2 separate regions of the Homo sapiens genome follow, and region 1 is linked to region 2. The links are contacts of gene promoters, found by promoter capture Hi-C in blood cells and fetal thymus (Javierre and others, 2016). All regions are on one chromosome and are shown on one strand. The core of a region is centred on a gene start or on the middle of the fragment in contact, and the rest is flanking DNA. Distances in the headings are between cores, read along the strand shown.

What was found. The method cuts DNA at HindIII sites, captures the fragments that hold promoters and counts their contacts. A CHiCAGO score of 5 or more calls a contact.
Region 1: a fragment that was not itself captured here is called in contact with the fragment with the promoter of LRATD2 in region 2 in 1 of 17 cell types (fetal thymus); the score reaches 5.1 in fetal thymus.

The regions. Positions count from the first base shown.
Region 1 is chr8:125,084,139-125,088,327 of GRCh38, forward strand. The region is part of intron 1 of WASHC5 (WASH complex subunit 5); the gene reads right to left. Among named protein-coding and RNA genes, the nearest start is that of WASHC5, 5.6 kb to the right of the region's middle. The HindIII fragment of the contact is 4,323 bases long and covers 322-4,189 here.
Region 2 is chr8:126,557,211-126,561,476 of GRCh38, forward strand. It overlaps LRATD2 (LRAT domain containing 2), which reads right to left and starts at 1,268. Exons shown (of 2, transcript NM_174911.5): 1 at 824-1,268; 2 at 1-275. The coding sequence starts at 179. LOC105375751 (a long non-coding RNA gene) reads left to right here and starts at 666. Exons shown (of 6, transcript NR_188069.1): 1 at 666-721. RefSeq lists an enhancer at 670-1,506 and a silencer at 1,221-1,400. The HindIII fragment of the contact is 2,746 bases long and covers 551-3,296 here.

The sequences.
Region 1 (4,189 bases), core at 1,233-3,732, 1.5 Mb before region 2:
CCTTTATAGGGGAAAGGGTGTTTATCTGTCACTCTTCATATTTTCCATGTGGAGGGACTTTGCTAGATTAACACTCTTGGCCTCTTCTTCAACATGTTAGTCACTTCTCTTGAGAAAAAGATATGATACAGCTCATCTCTGTGCTAGGGAGAAGGAACCACTGGGCATGTGTGGTTCCAATGTACCCTGATTATACAAGCTATCTCCTACTATTTGATATATTAGCAAATAATTTCAAACGCTATAAAGAGAGCTCAGAGACAAATCCCTGTACATCATTTTGAGGCATTTGTCCAATTATTTCCCAGAAATGGAACTGCAAGCTTAAGGTAAGAACATGTCCAAGATTCCTTTTAAAATTACAGATGCTAGGTTCTGCAAAATTCTGTGAAGATGATTTATAAATACTAAATCAAACTGGTCCAAAAGTCTCATAAAATTCAGCACTTAGGTATCTAGCACTGTTAGCAGAATCCATTACTTGCTTCTCTTGTATTCCAATGCACTCTCTGAGGATGGTTAGATCACTTAGCATACTGAATATTATCGTTGCTTACAGCTCATTCTGAAAGTTCTTGAAGGCAAGGATTGATCTTTACCCAACCACTCCTTGCTGAATACCTCTTTGCCAGGCTGGATATGAAGATGTTTAAACATCTCACCTTCTAGTCCAGTGGTTCTCAAGCCTGGCTGCTTAAGGGAATCACCTAGCATCTTAGAGTTTCTGGTAAGTAGGTTAGAGGTAGTCCTAAGCATCTCTGTTTTTAAGAATCTCCCCGGATGATTCTGATGTGAAGCCAGGATCATTAAAAGAGTAGAGAATGACTGGTCTTATAGAAAACTGCAGCAGGCAAACAGGAAATTAACAATATTTATCTTTGTGCCCTTTGTGCTGAACTCATTCCTTGGCACTGACAAGTATAAGGAGTGCATAAATAATACTAGGGTTACAAGAGGTGATGTCTGTCCTCTCTAGCTGCCTGCTATACTGCTGGAGATGAGCCCTGAAGAAAAAAAATCAGAGAGATGAAGTGCTTCAGTGTGTCTTTACAATAAAGAAATAAGAAGTGTAACATACATTTAATTGTCAGTATGGAGCATTTATTAGGTGTTCTGTTGGGAAAGGTATTCTTATACTGGGTGATCTTTAGTAAAGTGACATCTAGGAATTCGGGGCTAGAGAAAGAAACCTAGCATCTAAAAAGAATGACCTATTTTAGTATGTAACACTTAAAAACTTTTCCATGGTAAATGACTTAGAAGATGGATTTGAAATCCAAAGGGCAGACACAGGGTTGATTTCTAAAACATGCAAAGGGATCTCACAAGCTGTCAAAGAGAGAACAGAGAGAGAAGCGGAGGCAGAAGCCAAGTAACAAGGAAAAGGGAAAAAAAGATGTCACTAGGAATGAAAACCAACCAACCAACAAAACATACATGTGATGTTTTCCTGTACACATAAGTCTTTGAGCATGTCACTACCCAGGTTGTGCCTTCTAAGCATCTTCTGTAACACAGAGACTCTCGATAAAACTGCTTCCTGACCCATCCCTTTCCTTCCCACTAGCTTCCTCCTACAGCCAGTGCAGATAGCAGGGGTGAGCAGATGGTAGAAGGCGAAGGGCAACTGGAGAAGGAAGCGAGAAAGACTTACACAAATGAAATAACTCCTCGGACTTGATGAGGTTTCAGAAAGTTCTTGAAGTAGGTAATTTGTCTCATTACGCTACTCCTTCTTACATTCCCCTCTGCCCACAGACTTGAGTACCCCTTCTTGTTCAGGCCTGTGTGCCTTCCCCTGCAACAATCATTTTTCTTAGTTCTAGGGGCTTGGAAAGCAATCTGATTATAATAATGTGGTAACTGGTTGCCAAAGATGGCTCCCAACAATTCCTTGCCATGAAGTCAGCCCATACAGCACCTTAAGTGAAGGGCTGAACCTTATTTTCCCTCTCAATGAGTCTGGATTGCATTTTATTAGTTTGCTGGGCTGCCGTAACAAAGCACCACAGAGAGGGTGACTTAAACAACCACATTTATTTTGTCACAATTCTGGAGGCGAGAACTTCAAGATCAAGGTGTTGGTAGGACTGTTTTCTTCTCAGGCTTCTCTCACTGGCTTGTAGCCAGCTATTTTCCTCCTGTGTCTTCGCATGGCCACCCCATTGCTCATTTCTTTGTATAGAGATGGGAGTCTCACTATGTAGCCCAGGGGAGTCTCAAACTCCTGGGCTCAAGCAATCCTCCCATCTCAGCCTCCCAAAGTGCTGAGATTACAGGCATGAGCTACCAAGCCTGGCCCTCCTTTGTAAATTTCTGTGTCCAAATTTCCTCTTCATACAAAGATACCAGTCATATTGGATTAGGGCCTATCCTAGTGGCTTCATTTTAACTTAACCACCGCCTTAAAAATCCTGTCTCCAAATATAGTCACATTCTGAGCTACTGAGTGTTAGGAATTCAACATATAAATTTTGGGGGGACCCAACTCAGCTCATAACAGCTTGTGCCTTCCTTCCTTCAACCCAAAGAATACTGTAGAATTAACTCTCTACCAATTCCAGGCCTAAGCCTTGAGAAGGCCTGGCAGTATCTCCTTTTGCTCTCTTTGGGTGTCCGAAGCTGCCATGTAAGATGTCTGGGTATCTTGCTAGAGAGATCACAGGAGTTACAAAGAGGAAAGACCATGCTGAGAGGGAAAAGTCCTGACACAGAAGAGAATGAAGAAAGCCAGCAGACAGCAGAAACTGAAGTGCCGACGTGTGACTTGGGTTGACCTGGTCCACTCAGCCCCCAGCTCTTTAAGTCTTCCTAGCTGAAGTGCTAGACATATAAGGGATGAGGCTATTCGGCTTCTGCAGCCAGCAAAGCCCTCTGTGCCTTTTCCCAATTCCTAATGCACAGGATCATGATAAATTTTTAACATATTGTATTGTTTTGGGCAAATAAGTCTTGGGGTAGTTTGCCATAGTGCTGAGATTCAGTTTTGAGGACTAACAGTACAAGTTGTCAATTTAAACAGCATGCTGATGCTGTTATTGTGATATTTCATTTTCTATAATGCTGTGCAATATAGTCATTGCTTTTGTATAATAATGTCCATGTAGCTATTTCTGTATTGTACTACTGCATTTTCCTCCAATCCCCATCTTTTCAGTTCTCTGCTTCCGCTGATTATTGCAATTTCCTTACAGGAATTGTGCCATTTGTCTTATCTTTGGAAAAAGAGAGCTATGTCCTAAAAACCACTAGAAGTCGGTGAGGGAACAACAAGTAGGTGAGGGAACAATCTTTAGAAATGTTTTTAGGCCTGGCAACGGTGGCTCACACCTGTAATCCTAGTACTTTAGAAGGCCAAGGTAGGAGGAATGCTTGAGCTCAAGAGTTCAAGACCAGTCTGGGCAACAATAGCGAGACCTTGTCTCTACTAAAAATCAAAAGAATATCAGTCAGGTATGGTGGTGCGAGCCTGTAGTCCCAGTGACAAGGGAGGCTGAGGTGGGAGGATTGCTTGAGCCCTGGAGGTTGAGGCTGCAGTGAGCCATGATCGTGCCACTGCACTCTTGCCTGGGTGACAATGAGACCCTCTCTCAAAAAAAAAAAAAAAAAAAAATTTTCTCACATGTCAAGTATAGGAGATTCTTGCTATTAAGAATAGTTCATATCTGAAAAATGCTAGAGTGATTACAAAATACAGAAAAATGTTTCATAAAAAGGAGAAGAAAAAGTTTTGATTACAAATGTATCTTGAAATTTGTGAAAATGAGCTTTATATATTAGGCTGTGATAAGTGCCGTGAAGAAAAAACATAATAAAGGATGGGGCATATGCTAGTTTCCATAGAGCACCTCGGGCAGAAGTCAGAAGGAAATGAGAGAGCAAGCAGTATGGATATCTGGGTATGGTCAGCAGCTTTCTAAAGTGGTCCCTAATGATCTCTGCCTCCTGGTATTCATGTTCTATGTAGGTTCCTTCCCTTGAGTATAAGCTGACTTACTGACTCCCTCCTAAAGAGGAGAATAGGGCCAGGTGTGGTGACTCACTCCTGTAATTCCAGCACTTTGAGAGGCTGAGGCACATGGATCACCTGAGGTTAGGAGAGCCGGGATCACCCCGGCTCTACTAAAAATACAAAAATTAGCCAGGCATGGTGGCAAAAACCTGTAATCCCAGCTACTCGGGAGGCTGA
Region 2 (4,266 bases), core at 18-2,517:
GGCAAGCCGCCGCCATCTGGCCCCTGAGGCGGCGGCTGCGGCTCCACGTCCTCATCGTCATTGGAGAAAATGTAGGAGACCCCAATGCGGGGCCCGTCGTCCCGGTCCACGCCAGTCGGGTCGGCCGTGGGAACTTCCTTGTAACTTAGGTGGGTCAATTTCTCCACCTGGTTGCCCATCACGCTGCGGACACACGTTCACACCGCCGCAAGGGGAGAAAGCGAAACCAACTCCAGGGTCATTTGCACAGGTCCCCGGACAGGGGCTGAGGCTACCTGTTGGGAGAGGAAGGCAAGAAAGCCATGCAGGAGCCCCTCCGTGAAAAGGGCGTTTTGTTCCGAAAAAGAATCGGTGGGGGCTCAGCACCTGGAGCCATTTTAGGGGGAAGTCTCGGGTGTAGCGAGCTTTCCCTCGTTTCTCCACCTGTAAGGTCACGGTCACAGGAGACTGGGCAACTCCTGTTCTCCCTGTCCCCAGCCCTTCGCCTGGCCCTGGCAAAAGCCCATTGCATCAGCAGCTTCTACTGCTTCCGCCTGCGCCCTACCTGCCAAGCTTGGGCAGGAAGAGGGAAGGAAAGAGAAACTTTACGCCAATCCCCCCCCTCCTCTGCTAACTTCCCCTCCCACCCTCGGGCCCTAACTAGCCCCGGGGACGCCTCCTCCCCACCAACGCATCCATCCCCAGAGGAACAAGCGAGGATCTCAGAGCGCGACCTGGACAGGTGAGTCACCCTACCTGGCTCACCTGCAGCGCTACCTCCTCCCGGCTCGCCCGCCCTTCCCCCGCGCCCGCCCTCAGGCTCGGGTTACCTGCACAAACTCACCCGCGGAGAGGTGAAGGCCGTGGGGCCTGGGGAAGGGCTCCCTGCCGCGCCCCGAGACTTCTAGGGCGAGTTTGAAGGTGTAGGCTCGGCAGTCCCTCCTCTCCCGGCGCGGGCGGCAGCGAGGCTGGGCAGAGGGCAGCGCAGCGGGCAGACTAGGGGCATGTCTTTCCCCCGCGGCTGCGTAGCGCCCCGATACTTGAAGGCGGGGGGCAATCCCTGTTCACACCGCGCTTCCTCCCGCCAGCTGGGGCTGCTGCCCCTCCTCAGCCAGCTCTCGGGGGAGGTGGGGCGCGAGGAGGAGAGGACGGCAGCCTCGCAGCCTGGCGGCAACAGCTCCCGCTTGGGCCGGGCGAGCAACAAGCACCGGAGCTGGAGGGACGGGATTGTAGATCCGGCTCCGGGCTCCCGGGCGGGAGCGCAGCCCGTGGCATTTAAAGAGACAGGCGCTCACTCCCCGAGCTCGGGTCTTTTTCACATTGCGCCGAGCGGCCGGGAGCCCCGCCCCCGCCCCGCCCACTCGGGCCTCGGGACTCCGCCCGGCCACGCCCCCGCGCCGGAGCGGGTTTAAATCCCCCTGTAAATAATCCACCCGCCGCCTGGGGCTGGTGCTGTGAGCTCTGCTTGCCTTCCGAGACAAGTTAGAAGGCAAACACAACTTGCCAGTGTGGAAATGAGAAAGGGAAGGAGAGTTTGGTGTTTGCGCCTTTTCCCTTTGACCTGTTTTTTCCCAGAGTACCTGGAGAAGGAGGAACAGTCGTTTCTTTTCTTTCCTGGAACATATTTCTTGCCCTAAAGGTCACAAGAAAGGATTCTTCACCAGGACAGCTCGAAGAGTGCGTCATCCTAGAGGTGTTTTCAGAGTTAGTAGTGGGAAACTTTGGGGTAGAAAAGAAAATCGCAGAAAAGAAACAGTATAAAACAGAACGAAGACTTATTCACTGACTGGGTCCCAAGACCACCGCTCTGTTTATTAGATACCCCTGGAAGTTAGTACAAAGTTCATAACCTCCGTTATTTCCAGAGAGGTACCAGTTCGTTGGATAGTGAGAGAAGCGTGCAGCTCTGACTGCTTTTTTTTGGGGGGGTGGGGGGTTAGGGGATGTAGGAATTGCCTAATTCCTACATCCTAATTCTAATTGTCCTTAAATTAGAAACAAATTAGCAGAGGCCCTAGTGGATATATTTCCTTCCTGTTGACTTAGGGAAGTGACAGGAGACCAGTAATGCCTACTAACCTCCACCACAAAAGGACACTTCCACCTCTCCACTGGTTTCGTTTCTTTTACCTAAATGTAGGCTACCAAAGTGTTTTTTTTGTTGTTGTTGTTGTTTATTTTTTTAAAATAATGGGTCCGGTGAGGGTGGAGGATTAACAGCTCTGTTTACAATAAACAAGTTTAGGCACTACTGCAAGCACCCAGACTTATTCGTAGGGGACTTAAGAATGCGATTCAAGACCTATATTCTGTCTTCAGTTGCTTTCTTTTGACTAATTTTTTCCAGCATGTATAACCAGCCAGTGGAAACAGGAATATACTAGCACTACTGTGATCCTTTCTAGTTTAGGAGAAAAAAATAAAAATCATTCTACTTATGTAATTTTGAGTCCAAACAATCAATATTGGCAGGGCTGTGATAGAAATTAGTCCTTCAGCAAGTCTGAAGTATAAGTTAGATCAACATGAGACTACTGTGTGCTGTGCGATTCTGTTTCAATAATTTCAGACTGGCTGGCCTCAGGCGCATGTGACTGAATGAATCCAACACACCCCAGTCCTTTTGATAGCAAATGGTGTGGGGGGCTGCTGTTACCTGAGTGATATTTGTTGCCATCATATGATCACCATATTATAGACAAGAGTTAGGCTTATAGAGATTATGGCTGGTCATCCTATGTTCATCAGATTGGGAGACCTCTGCTACTGCCTGATTTGGGAGGCCACTTTGCTCCTAGGTGCTACTGGGATGGCTGGGAATGGGAGAATTGAACTGAGAGGACACAGTTGTAGGACAATTTGCTACCAGCACTCTAGGTCAGAGATCTGGTGGGTGAGGAAGCAATGCCTAGCTGACTAGGTGTGTCTCCTTTTGTCTTGATGAGCTGTTCTCAGGTGCACAATAGTGGCTCAACAACATATCTTGAACTGACCAACTATAAAGCCTCAGAGGGAACAAGCCCTGATCCATTTTATATCTGAATGCCTGGCACTGAGTGGGTACTCAATAAATGCTTGATGGATGCCTTAGGGGAAAATTTGGCCACAGGTCAAGAATTGCTTCCTGGTTTTATGGGGCTGTGAGTGAGTGAGTGAAGAAATGTTGCCTTTTGATAGCTGGCGTCTAGTGTAGATTCTTCCATGAATGCCTGTTGAGGGTTCAACATCCGTCTTGTCACCTGGAACATTTGGTCAGAGATTACAACATGGCTCTCAGACATGCTTTGCTCATTTCAAATAGTTGTTTAATAAATTTAAGCTTGTTGTCAACAATTTGAAAACTTGGGAGATATTAAAAAATTCATATTCCCAGTTTCATTTGAAAAATCTAAAGATATGAGACTTGGCTGGGCGTGGTGGCTCATGCCTGTAATTTCAGCACTTTGGGAGGCCAAGGCAGGATCACTTGAGATCAGGAGTTCGAGACCAGCCTGGCCAACATGGTGAAACCCCATCTCTATTAAAAATACAAAATTAGTAGCCGGGAGTGGTGGGGTGCGCCTATAATTCCAGCTATTCAGGAGGCTGAAGCAGGAGAATTGCTTGAACCCGGGAGGCAGAGGTTGCAGTGAGCCGAGATCACGCCATTGCACTCCAGTCTGGGTGACAGAGTGAGACTCTGTCTGTAAATAAAATAAAGATATGAGACAATCAGACCCATATTCCAGGATGGCAACAAATTGCTGGAGAGAAGTGGTAGTTGCCTTGCGGGTGAACTATATTCTCCAGTTGGATCCAGTCCCTGTCCCCCACACCTCACGTACCTAGGTCCCTTGCCTGGTCCAGGAAGCTCTCTGTTGGCCACCTTTGCCATCCAATACCTGTACTACACATTTTATTACCTGAATATGTGTAACTCAGCACTTGATCATATACTATCTGGTATTATTCTCTAATTCATGTATTAAAGTTCATATTCTAATTAATATATTTATTCATGTCTTTTCTAAAGAGGACTTGGTTCAAAATACATTTCATGAAGACATACTGGGTGCCTGCTAGTCTTAATCACTGTGCATCCAATTCTACAATGGGCACTGTGCTAGGTTTCTTAGATGTTCGTGTCCCCAGGTAGTCACCATATTGGAGGAGACAGAGAAATAAATAGACTCTTTGGGACACTGTGACATGTCCTGTAATAAGACATAGAGGATGCTGGGGCGGTAAGGTGATGTTTCAAGGCATGGTGGATACAGAGATTAATGACCAAGTGCCTGCCAACAGGGT